2 separate regions of the Homo sapiens genome follow, and region 2 is linked to region 1. Evidence: promoter capture Hi-C in 16 types of primary human blood cells and fetal thymus (Javierre and others, 2016). All regions are on one chromosome and are shown on one strand. The core of a region is centred on a gene start or on the middle of the fragment in contact, and the rest is flanking DNA. Distances in the headings are between cores, read along the strand shown. Region 1 holds the start of EIF3B (eukaryotic translation initiation factor 3 subunit B). Region 2 holds the start of TTYH3 (tweety family member 3).

The links. The method cuts DNA at HindIII sites, captures the fragments that hold promoters and counts their contacts. A CHiCAGO score of 5 or more calls a contact.
Region 2: a contact is called between the fragment with the promoter of TTYH3 here and the fragment with the promoter of EIF3B in region 1, in 1 of 17 cell types (neutrophils). The highest score is 6.0, in neutrophils.

The regions. Positions count from the first base shown.
Region 1 is chr7:2,352,335-2,357,573 of GRCh38, reverse strand. EIF3B (eukaryotic translation initiation factor 3 subunit B) reads right to left here and starts at 2,747. Exons shown (of 19, transcript NM_001037283.2): 1 at 2,154-2,747. The coding sequence starts at 2,652. It also overlaps a transcript of SNX8 not described here. RefSeq lists silencers at 2,291-2,400, 2,451-2,540, 2,721-2,860 and enhancers at 3,661-3,730, 3,401-3,956. The HindIII fragment of the contact is 9,918 bases long and covers 1-5,239 here.
Region 2 is chr7:2,629,204-2,634,442 of GRCh38, reverse strand. TTYH3 (tweety family member 3) reads right to left here and starts at 2,457. Exons shown (of 14, transcript NM_025250.3): 1 at 2,165-2,457. The coding sequence starts at 2,287. RefSeq lists enhancers at 1-103, 947-1,056, 836-1,568, 2,301-3,032 and a silencer at 2,107-2,516. The HindIII fragment of the contact is 11,109 bases long and covers 1-5,239 here.

The DNA.
Region 1 (5,239 bases), core at 1,498-3,997:
CTGAAAGGATGATTACAGTTTGAGAAGCTAATCTGTACCAAAAAAGTAATAAAGCAAGACAGGGACTCCAGGCCACCTCTGGCCTGCTCCTTGGAAGACTTGGCCCTTCTGGAAAGAACTGATACAGTCACCTACGGTCTTGCACAATGACCCTGAAGGGCAGCTCTTCTCATAAAGCACAAAACCTGCGTTACCACAACCAGGAGGGCCATGACAAAGTCGGCTTCCTGAGCCTTAGTCCTCAGGACCAGATGCCTCACCTGTCACTCTGGCCAACACTGCACCTTCAGGGCCACGTGGGCCCGCTGAGGACCCACAGCCGTCACCCAGCCTGGCCAACCCTGTCGTCATATTAGCATCCTCTGACTCTTCCCAATTCCAGAAGTAATCTACGTATTAGAAATCTGTGAATTCGATGGGCTCAAATAATGCTTTTTAAAAAAGTAGCAGAATATCCAAGGGCTCAAAATAATCATTAAACCAAAAGTTTTGATTTTTAAACCATAATAACAATTGAAGCGTTAGAAAGAACACTGTTCTGAGCAGGAGAGTCTGGTGGGCCAAGCAGTATAGACCCACTGGGAATTCTCAGCAGCCTACTCCACCTTCAGGGACAAGTTTCCTCAGGACTGAGGGGCGTAGACTAGATGTTCCCAAAGTCTTTAGTTTGTGGTGTCCTTCCTGCTTTTCATGCTAAAATGTCTTTTATGAAAAAAAAAAGTGTAATATAGTAATGGTCACAGTAACTGACAGCGTTTTTATTTTTTAATTTTTCACTTTTTGAGACAGGGTCTCACTCTGTCGCCCAGGCAGTGGTGGGATCTAGGCTCACTGCAACCTCCACCTCCTGGGTTAAAGTGATTCTCGTGCCTCAGCCTCCCAAGTACCTGAGACTACAGGTGTGCACCAGCACACCTGGCTGACTTGTATTTCTGATAACCTTTTTTTCTTTTTCTTTTTTTTTTTTTTTTGAGACGGAGTCTTGCTCTGTCGCCCAGGATGGAGTGCAGTGGCAGGATCTCGGCTCACTGCAAGCTCCGCCTCCCAGGTTCACACCATTCTCCTGCCTCAGCCTCCAGAGTAGCTGGGAAATCCAGGTGCCCGCCACCACGCCCGGCTAATTTTTTTTTATTTTTAGTAGAGACGGGGTTTCACCGTGTTAGCCAGGATGGTGACCTCGTGATCCACCCGTCTCGGCCTCCCAAAGTGCTGGGATTACAGGCGTGAGCCACCCAGCCCGGCCCTCTGATAGCCTTTTAAAAATACGTTTAAATCATAAATTGGCAACTCCATGTTATTCCCGAAATTGTCCTGGTGTATCGCTGGCTACATCAGCAAGGGTATTTTTATTTTTCTCACTCTAGTATCAACTTAGCCAATCTGCAGAGGCTGATGTGTTCCCAACTTAAAGGCTTAAGAGAGCTAAAAAACAAAAGAAAAACAAATGAGACCAGCTCTCATCAGAAGTAGCTTCAGGAAAAAATCTCTGAGACAGGAAGCAAAAATATGCCTGTAAATCCAATCAAGGTTGAGATGAAGGCAAAGCTGGCTGTTATCGGCAATATTAAAACCTGGAAAAATAACTCTCTTTATAGATTTAGCGCAAGAGATAAAGAAAAATCAAACTGGAATTTCACAGGGTGCCTGTCCCACTAAGGAAGTCTCTGGAGATGGACAATTCTGAGGGGCAGGAGGACAAAATCACCGGCTCTGCCACAAGCTGTTCCTCCGATCCAGACCTTGGGAGGTCTGACTGGTCAGCTCTGGGGACACGTAGACCCGCAAACCTGCCACCGGGTCTTCGGTTTTTGCCGTACCCCCAGCTGCTACACTCACAGCACACCCAGCCATAACGGAGTACCCCATGTGCCCTCTCCCACCCTCTCAGATTTCTGGTTGTCATGCAAATGCCTGGCTCCCGAAGTGAGCTCCACCCTGTCCCCTTTTTCAGGAAAGAAAAGGGGAGGCGCTGGGCTCTCAGAACACTTCCAGGGCACTCGGGAACCCCTCCCTCGGTGGCTTCTCAGGAACACACGGACACCCTCGCTGGAACTTCTGCACGAACCGGTGGCACAGCCCGACGATATCTCCCACCTCGGGAACCCCAGCCACGCTCCCGCGCCGCTCGCCAGCCCCGCCCCGGGCGCCCTCACCTTCCTCGCTCACGTCGTCCACGAAGTCCTCGGGGTCGCTGAAGGAGGGCTCGTCCGCGTCGCCGTTCTCCAGCGCCCGGGGTTCGGCCTCGGCCGCTCTGCCCTCGTTTCCTCCCGCGTCCTCGGACACCGCCTGGGCCCGGCTGTCGGAGCGCTCGTCCCGAGCCTGCTCTCCTGGGGCCTCGCCCTGTGCCGGGACAGGGGGCTCAGCATGCGACCCGGGCAGCTCCTCGGCGGCCGGCGGCGAGGGCGACTCGGACGGGCCGGAGGCCGCCTCTGCCTCGGCCGCCGGCTCGGTCCTCACCTCGGACTCCGGCCCGGCCTCCGCGATCCCCACCTCCTCACTGGAGGCCTCGGTCCCCGCGGCCTCCGGAGCGCCGGGCCCCGCGGGCCGCAGCAGCCCCTCGGCTGGCGGCGGCTCGGCGGCCGGCTGCTGCTGGCCGGGCTCGGCGCGCTCCTCGGCCGCCTCGGGCACCGCCACGTTCTCCGCGTCCTGCATGGGCCCAACGCTGCCTACTCGCAGGGCTCCGCGGCCGCCGCGCTTCCGACTCTCCCAGGCCGCACCGCGCGCCGCGACGGCTACAGCCCAGCCATGTGCGTGCGACGGGGAGGCCGCACCAAGGCCGCGGGGCGGGGGGCGCACCCACGCCCTGGGGCCTCACGAACGACCCTGAGAGGACTCGCATCCACAAGACCGCGCCCGAAAATCATCAAACTGATATATTTGTGACAAGAAAGTGCTTAATTCCATTCAGCAAGGTTGTTTCTGTGCATCAGTAAACTCATGGGAGCATTGACCACCCCATGTGTGGCAGCAGATGGTTCCGTCCAACATGGCGTCCTCCCCCTTTCCTTTCCCGTCGGACGCTGCGGGGCGGGACTGAACTATTTGTGGAGCTGAAGGCGGGGACAAGAAATGATTTTAGTACCCGGAATGCTAGGAAAATGTCCTCTAACTCAACAGTTAATACCCTGGAAGAGTGGAGACTCAACAGGCGATTGCTCAGGGCGTCTGAGCCTTTCGCTAGGGAAACCGTTTAGTTTACGTTACTAAAGTCCCCCCTGTCCGTGTCTGTCACTTGGACTCGCCTACTGACTGAGCAAAAGGACAGACTACTTCAAAATAGAAAAGGAATTCGGGGCGAGCCAGAGAGGGCCCACACGACTAGAAGGACGACTGCCTGGCGCGATACAAAAATGTATGGAAGTTTCTTTAATCGCTTACCCCCAGTCCTTCCCTAGCGGCCGTCACTGCCTGTTTCCCCCCATTCGGGCTTTCACAGTGGTTCAGTCCATCCGAGGCCGCCGCCTTCAGCGCGGGACAGCGCGGGTCACGTGGGGGCGGGGGCGGGTCCTCGCCGCGTGGAGCTCGAGGCTGACTCCGGAGGGACCGGAGCGGTTCGCTCTGCGCGGGTGCTCACGGGACGGGCATTGGGTGCATGTGGCTTCTATCTTGTTTTTTGCCGGAGTGGAGGACAACCACTGGTTGGGGGATGTCTTAATCATCCTAGAAAACAACCCAGTGGATCACGCCTGTTATCCCAGCACTTTGGGAGGCTGAGGTGGGAAGATCGCTTGAGCTTAGGAGTTGGAGACCAGCCTTGCCAACATAGCACCACCACCCCCCGCACGCCAGCCCTCATCTCTACGAAAATTAAATAAATAAATAAAACAGGTGGTACCCAGAGGCTGGGGTGGAGAGTGGGGAGTGTTTATCGGGGACGGACCTTCAATTTGGGAGGATGAGAACGTTTTGGAGATGACGGTGGTGATGGTACAACATGGTGAATGTACTTGATGCCACTGAACTGTATACTAAACTTCATATTAAAATGGCTAGGCCCTGCGCGGTGGCTCACACCTCTCTTCCCAGTACTTTGGGAGGCCAAGACAGGAGGATCACTTGAGCCCAAGAGTTCAAGACCAGTCAGGGCAACATAGCGAGACCCTGTCTTCGAAAAAATAAAATAAAATGCCAAAAAGGTAAATTTTATGTATATTTCATCCTATAGTTTTTTTGTTTTGTTTGTTTTCAGAGATAGGGTCTCGCTCTGTTGCCCAGGCTAGAGTGCGGTGGCATAATCACAGCGCCGCTGCAATCGGGACCTTCCAGCCTCAAGAGAATCCTCCCACCTCAGCCTCCCAAAGTGCCAGGATTACAAGCGTGAACCACCGCGCAGGGCCTAGCCATTTTAATATGCAATTTAGTGTACAGTTCAGTGACATTAAGTACATTGCCAAGTACTTGGGACTGAAGGTATGTGCCACCGTGCCCAGCTAATTTCTTTATTTGTAGATAGCATCTCACTGTGTTGCCCAGGCTGGTCTCAAACTCCTGGCCTCAAGCAGTCTTCCTCCCTCAGCTTCCCAAAGTGCCGGGACTATAGGCATGAGCCACCACACCCATCCCATCCTAACGGTGTTTAAAAGAGCGAAAAAGAAGCAGAGTCTTCCCATGCCTAGTACCAGGTTTGACTACTCCTCATCATGCTGTCAGTGGTGTATCTTTGGGCAGGTCACTTAATGCCTCCACCTCAGTTTCCGCATCTGTACAATAAGGGATGACAATTTTTTTTTTTTTTATTTAGACGGAGTGTTGCTCTGTCGCCTAGGCTGGAGTGCAGTGGCACGATCTCGGCTCACTGCAAGCTCCACCTCCCGGGTTCACGCCATTCTCTTGCCTCAGCCTCCCAAGTAGCTGGGAATACAGGTGCCCGCCACCACGCCTGGCTGATTTTTTTTGTATTTTTTTAGTAGAGACGAGGTTTCACCGTATTAGCCAGGATGGTCTCGATCTCCTGACCTTGTGATCCGCCTGCCTCGGCCTCCCAAAGTGCTGGGATTACAGGTGTGAGCCAATACGCCTGGGAGTATGTTTTTTCTACATATGCATGCTTACAATAGGGCACAGTAAGAGATTAACAGCAATAACTAATAGAACAATTATAACAATATATTGTCATAAAAGTTATGTGGATGTGGTGTCTGGTGGTGTGTCTGTGTCTCTCTCTGTCAAATTTTCTTCATTATGTAATATTTTCCAACCTAATTGACCATAAGTAACTGAAACAGTGCAATGTGAAACT
Region 2 (5,239 bases), core at 1,208-3,707, 280 kb before region 1:
TACAGCCAGCAACTCCTCACCAGGGGAGGCAGGAAGGGGCGCCTGCCACAGCCCAGGCCCACCCACTGCCCATTCTCCCAGGAAGGGGGCTCCTGGCCCTTGCCTCCCAGGGGTGACCCTACACAGGAGGCACGGCCAGCCCAGATTCAGGATGAGGCAATGAAGGCTCAGAGACACCAAGCAGTTGCCGAAAAGCACCAGTATTGGAAGGGCAGGGGCAGGACGCACGCCAGGACCAGCTCACGCCACAGCCCCTCGCCAAGAGCCGGGAGTGGAGGCGGCGGGGGATGGAGGCAGGCCGGTTTCCACATCGTGAATTATTCAGTGGCTAATTCTGCTCTGTGGAGATGAGGCAGGAGAGAGAGTGAGTCAGAGCCCTCCCACAGCAGAGCAGAGCGCAGGGCAGGGGAGGAAAGGGGGCAGAAGCCAGGGCCTCCCAGGGCCATAGCACCCTGCTGGAGGCCAGGCAGGTCAGGCTGAGCAGAGGGGCCTGGCTACTGCCCGGAGGCTCTTGTGGGCTGCAGACATCATCGCCCCTCACTCCCTCTCACTGCCTGTCTCGAATGTGGGAATGCAGGCACCCCGGAGGGCTGGAAGGAAGTCCAACTGTGGCTGGCAGCTCGGGCAGGTGGCAGCCCAAGGGGCAGCAGGAAACAGCCGCCCCCCACGCCCCAGGGCTGCCCCGGAGCTTAAGAACTGACAAATGGGCCAAACCCTCAGGGCAGAGAACTTTCCAAAGTGAAGCACACCCTCCTTGCAGCTTCAACAGAGTCCTCCAGGGACAAGTGGCAAAGCCATCAGCATGGAATAAGTTCCAGAAGTTCCTGAATGTGCATTGCCCCCACACTGAACGGTCCCCCAGGGCTGGGCTTCTAGAACGCAGGCGTGAGATTTTATACCAATCCTTCCGCCTCCCTCCTCCCTGCTGTGTCTGGGCGTGCCTGGGCCGATCCCTCGCCCCCTTCCTCATCTGTTAGGAAACGTCATCGGCTCGGCTGGGGGGCCTGGGTGCAAGTGAGCGCGAGGCTGGGAGCAGTGGGCTCCCAGGTGCCCTGCTCCTCCACTTCCGCCTCCCTCCTCTGGATGCGGGAGGCCACAGACAACGCAGTTCTGAAGAGTCCAGGTGCTAGGCTGCCCGCGGAATACCGGATTCCCAAGCCATTTTGATAAGCAAAGCCATCCCCACCCCACCATGGGGCTCTGCCATGATCCGTCCAGAGAGAAACTCCGGGTGACCAGGGACCCTGGTCACGGGGCTTCTGGAATCCGGATCTCTAGGCAGGAAGGAAATGCCCACAGCTTGGTCCCCTGCCCCGCACTCAAATGACAGTAGCTTGGCGATGGGGGTGGTGCTGGGGCCTGGCATGATGCCAGGCTAAGGGCTCCCCTGGGAGAGGGCTGCAAAGGGCCCCCAGCCGCCCCCCAGGTCTGCCTGGGCTCAGCCGCTTCCAGCCTCCCTGCCTGAGGCCCACGGTGCTTCCTGGCCGCCGGGCCTCCCTCCCCCGGGGGCTACAGGCAGCCTGGTCTCCCACGGCCACACACGGCACCCTGTGTACATCCCACAGCCTGACCGCCAAGCAGGGGGTCATTACCGGCCACAGAGGGCTGGCGGCGGCCCAGGCCATTCACCCACTGGAAGCCTGGCAGTGGGATTCCCCAGTCGGGGGTGAGTGGGCGAGGAGTCTCTGCCTGCCTGCACCCAATGTGCTCAGGCACCCGCTCTGATCTCAGAGCCTGGGGGTCATCTGGGGAGGGGTCTCTGCTGGGACACAGCACCAGGCCGCCAACAGTGATGGTGGAGAGGCCCTCCACTGGCCAAGGGGGCTCACGGAGTGGGGAGAGGCAGCTCCATGAAACCCAGGGGCCTTAGTGACACCAGAAGGGAAGGCCAGAATCGGGAGGGGGGCCGTGGACCCTCACTGGGGGTTGGAGGGTATTTAGACCTTTGAGGAGGAGGCCATGACCCTGGAAGAAAGGGTCCTAGGACTCAGAAGGGACCCTCGAGAAGGAAGGAGGCCGGTACCTGCGAGGAGGAGGTGGCCGTGACCCTGGAGGGGGGGATGAGGGGTCTTTAGGCCCTCGGGGATGGGGGCCGTGACCCTGGGAGAGGAGGGGGCCGTGACCTGGGGTCCCTGACCCCGCGACCCCGAGAGGCCCATGTCACCTGCTGGTAGTCGGTGTCCTCGGGCCGGAACTGGCTGCTAGTGGCCTCCCAGCTCAGGTCGAAGTGGGGCAGCCGGTGCAGGAGGCTCACCCACCAGGGCGCCGCGTAGCTGACCCCGGCCATGGCGGGGCCCGGCCGCCTCCGGATGCGCGCGGCCTGCGCGGGGCTCCCTTGCTGGCCCGGGGCGCGGGCTTCAGGGACCCGTCGACCCCCGCCTGGCCGCCCGCATCATCCGCGCGCTCCTGGGCCCGGCCCGGCCCGGCTCGGCCCGGCTCGGCTGCGCTCGGCTCCGCTCGGCCGCCCGCGCCCGCCGCCTCTTTGTTCGCCGCCGCCGCCGCCGCCCCCTCCGCACCCCCGCCCGTCCGCCCGCCGGCCCCGCCCCCGAGCCTCCATTGGCCCGCCTCCCGCCAGCCCAGCCCCCGCGCGCCCCGCCCTCTGTCCCGCCTCTTACCCACCATTGGTCTATCCCCCGCCGATCCCGCCCCACAGCGTGCCCCGCCCACTCGCTCCTGAACCTCTATTGGTCCTTTTACCTGATGGTTTTGCCCCTCCACTCGCATCCCCGCCCATTACCCAATGGCCCCGCCCCTCCACGTGTCCCCGCCCTTCGGCCCCGCCTCTGTACCGTCATTAGTCCGCCGGCAGAAGCTCCGCCTACTTCCTCGCCTTCTTGGAGGGACGCCTGGCCCCTAAGGCGCTGGAAGACCGACCCTCAGCGCTGTAAGACCCGGGCCAGCCAGTCTTTCCACGTGGCCGTGGGGGCTGGAACCCTGGCTGCATATGCAGCTGCGCTTCATTCCATGAATTCGCTCTTCGTTTGGATCTTTGCATGTTTCTTATTTGACTCGAGGGTCCGGCCTGGTGGGCTGGGCTGGTCTTGGCCTCCCCATTGCACACACAACAGCCCACAGCCCGCAGCGCCCAGCAAGGCACCGAGTGGCCTATCTGTACAATGGACATGATCTGGATTCAGGGCCTGGCTGGGGCACCTAGAGCTGTGTGATCTGGGGCAAGTTACTTAACCACTCTGTGCATCGGTGTCCTTGTCTGTAAAAGGGGATGATAAAGCTACGAGTGTTGGCAGGGCGTGGTGGTGGTTCATGCCTGTAATCCCAGCACTTTGGGAGGCCGAGGCAGGCGGATCACCTGAGGTCAGGAGTTCGAGACCAGCCTGGCCAAAATGGTGAAACCCCGTCTCTACTAAAAATACAAAAATTAGCCAGGCGTGGTGGCGGGCGCCTGTAATCCCAGTTACTCTGGAAGCTGAGGGAGGAGAATTGCTTGGACCTGCGAGATGGAGGTTGCGGTGAGTGGAGATTGCGCCACTGCACTCCAACCTGGGCAACAGAGTGAGACTCCATCTCAAAAATAAAAAAAATTTTTTTTAAAAAGGTACGAGTGTTAAGTGGATCCGCAGGTAGATTCAGTCCCCATCCGGCCTTCCCTCTGGGGAAGGTTGAGTCTTTTGTCAAGACCTAAGATGAAGACGGTGCCCTGTTCTGGTGTCCTGGGGCCTAAAAATTCAGGCACCTGCCAGAGAGGGCCCATCATGGGCTTTGGAGCCACACAGCCAAATTTCCTAACAGGGCCTCCCCATGCCTGTGCCTCCTCCTTTGCTAAAGGGGAGATGGGAGCTGCCAGAGCCAGGAGGATGGACATAGTGCGTGCTTGGGCCCAGGTGCACGCCTCCCTCCGCACTCTAGGGCAGTGGGTGCATCCTGGCTCTGCTTCATCACCTGGGGCCTTATTCCTGGACCTCCTGTGTACTGAGAAACAGGTTTCCACACCCGGGCTCCACCATCTGCTGTGCCCGACTTGGCCAGCTCTGTGGGCAGGCAGGCCGTTCCTGGCAGGAAGAGCTCTTTGCAGGCAGGGACGGTTCCGGGCAGTGTCTTCCCAGGAGGCCTGGACTTTGGCTCATTGACTGCCCTGACTCGCCTGTTTTCCTGTGATAGGGCACCGGGCAAGAGGGACTAGCTGAGCTGCGGTTTCCACCCGCTGGATAACTTGGAGACACCACCCAGCTGGGAAATAACAGCCAGGCAGAAGGGGGGAGGTCGCATTCTCCATCCCTAAAGGCCGAAGAGCCAGAAATTTGGGGTGGGGTGGGGATACTGGCTCAGGTTCCTCTCTCTCCAATGCCAAGGATGGTGGGAGCTCCAGGCAGAATGAAGCCCCCCCCAACCCCCTAAGACCAAGGCTACCTACTTGGAGTGGGCTGGTACCTGGCCAGGTGAGTCCTCTTCTTTGGCGCCAGCTGATTGCTCACTGTGAACAGGTGGCTTAGGCAGGACGCCCACTCCTAGCCTGACACTGCTCCAGCATCCAGCCTGTGACCTCATCTCCACAGCCAGGGGATCGCCTGCACGGCCCGTGCCCTGGGCTGACTCTGACCTCAGAGTTCTGTGTCGCATAACTCCAGGGATGAACAGGGCAGTCCCTGGCCAGCTGCAGAAATTGTCCTCATGGCCTGAGATCGTTTCTGGTTCCTGCTGTTAGCAGCAGCTCCCATGGCCACAAACAGACCTCCTGCTTCCCCCCACCACAACTCCAGTGCCCTCCACACCAGCCTGGCAGCCCTGCCAGGGTACACACATGCAGGCAGGGGGTACAGGAGTTCCTTCCCCTGTTTCCAGAAGCCTGGCAAAATTGTACCTTTCCTTTTGATAAAGCCAGAAAGTCTGATGCAGACATGATGTGAGATGATAACTTAGGGTCAGGCACAGTGGCTCACGCCTGTAATCCCCACACTTTGGGAGACCGAGGCAGGGGAGATCGCCTGAGGTCAGGAGTTCGAGACCAGCCTGGGCAAATGGTGAAACCCCGTCTCTACAAAAAAATACAAAAATTAGCCAGGCATGGTGGCACATGCCTGTAATCCCAGCTACTCGGGAGGCTGAGGCAGGAGAATCGCTTGAACCCGGGAGGTGGAGGGTGCAGTGAGCCGAGATTGCGCCATTGCACTCCAGCCTGGGTGACAGAGCGAACTCCATCTCAAAAAAAAAAAAAAAAAGAAAGAAAGAAATGATAACTCAGGTGTAGTGGATTGAATTATGTTCCCCAAAAAGATATGTT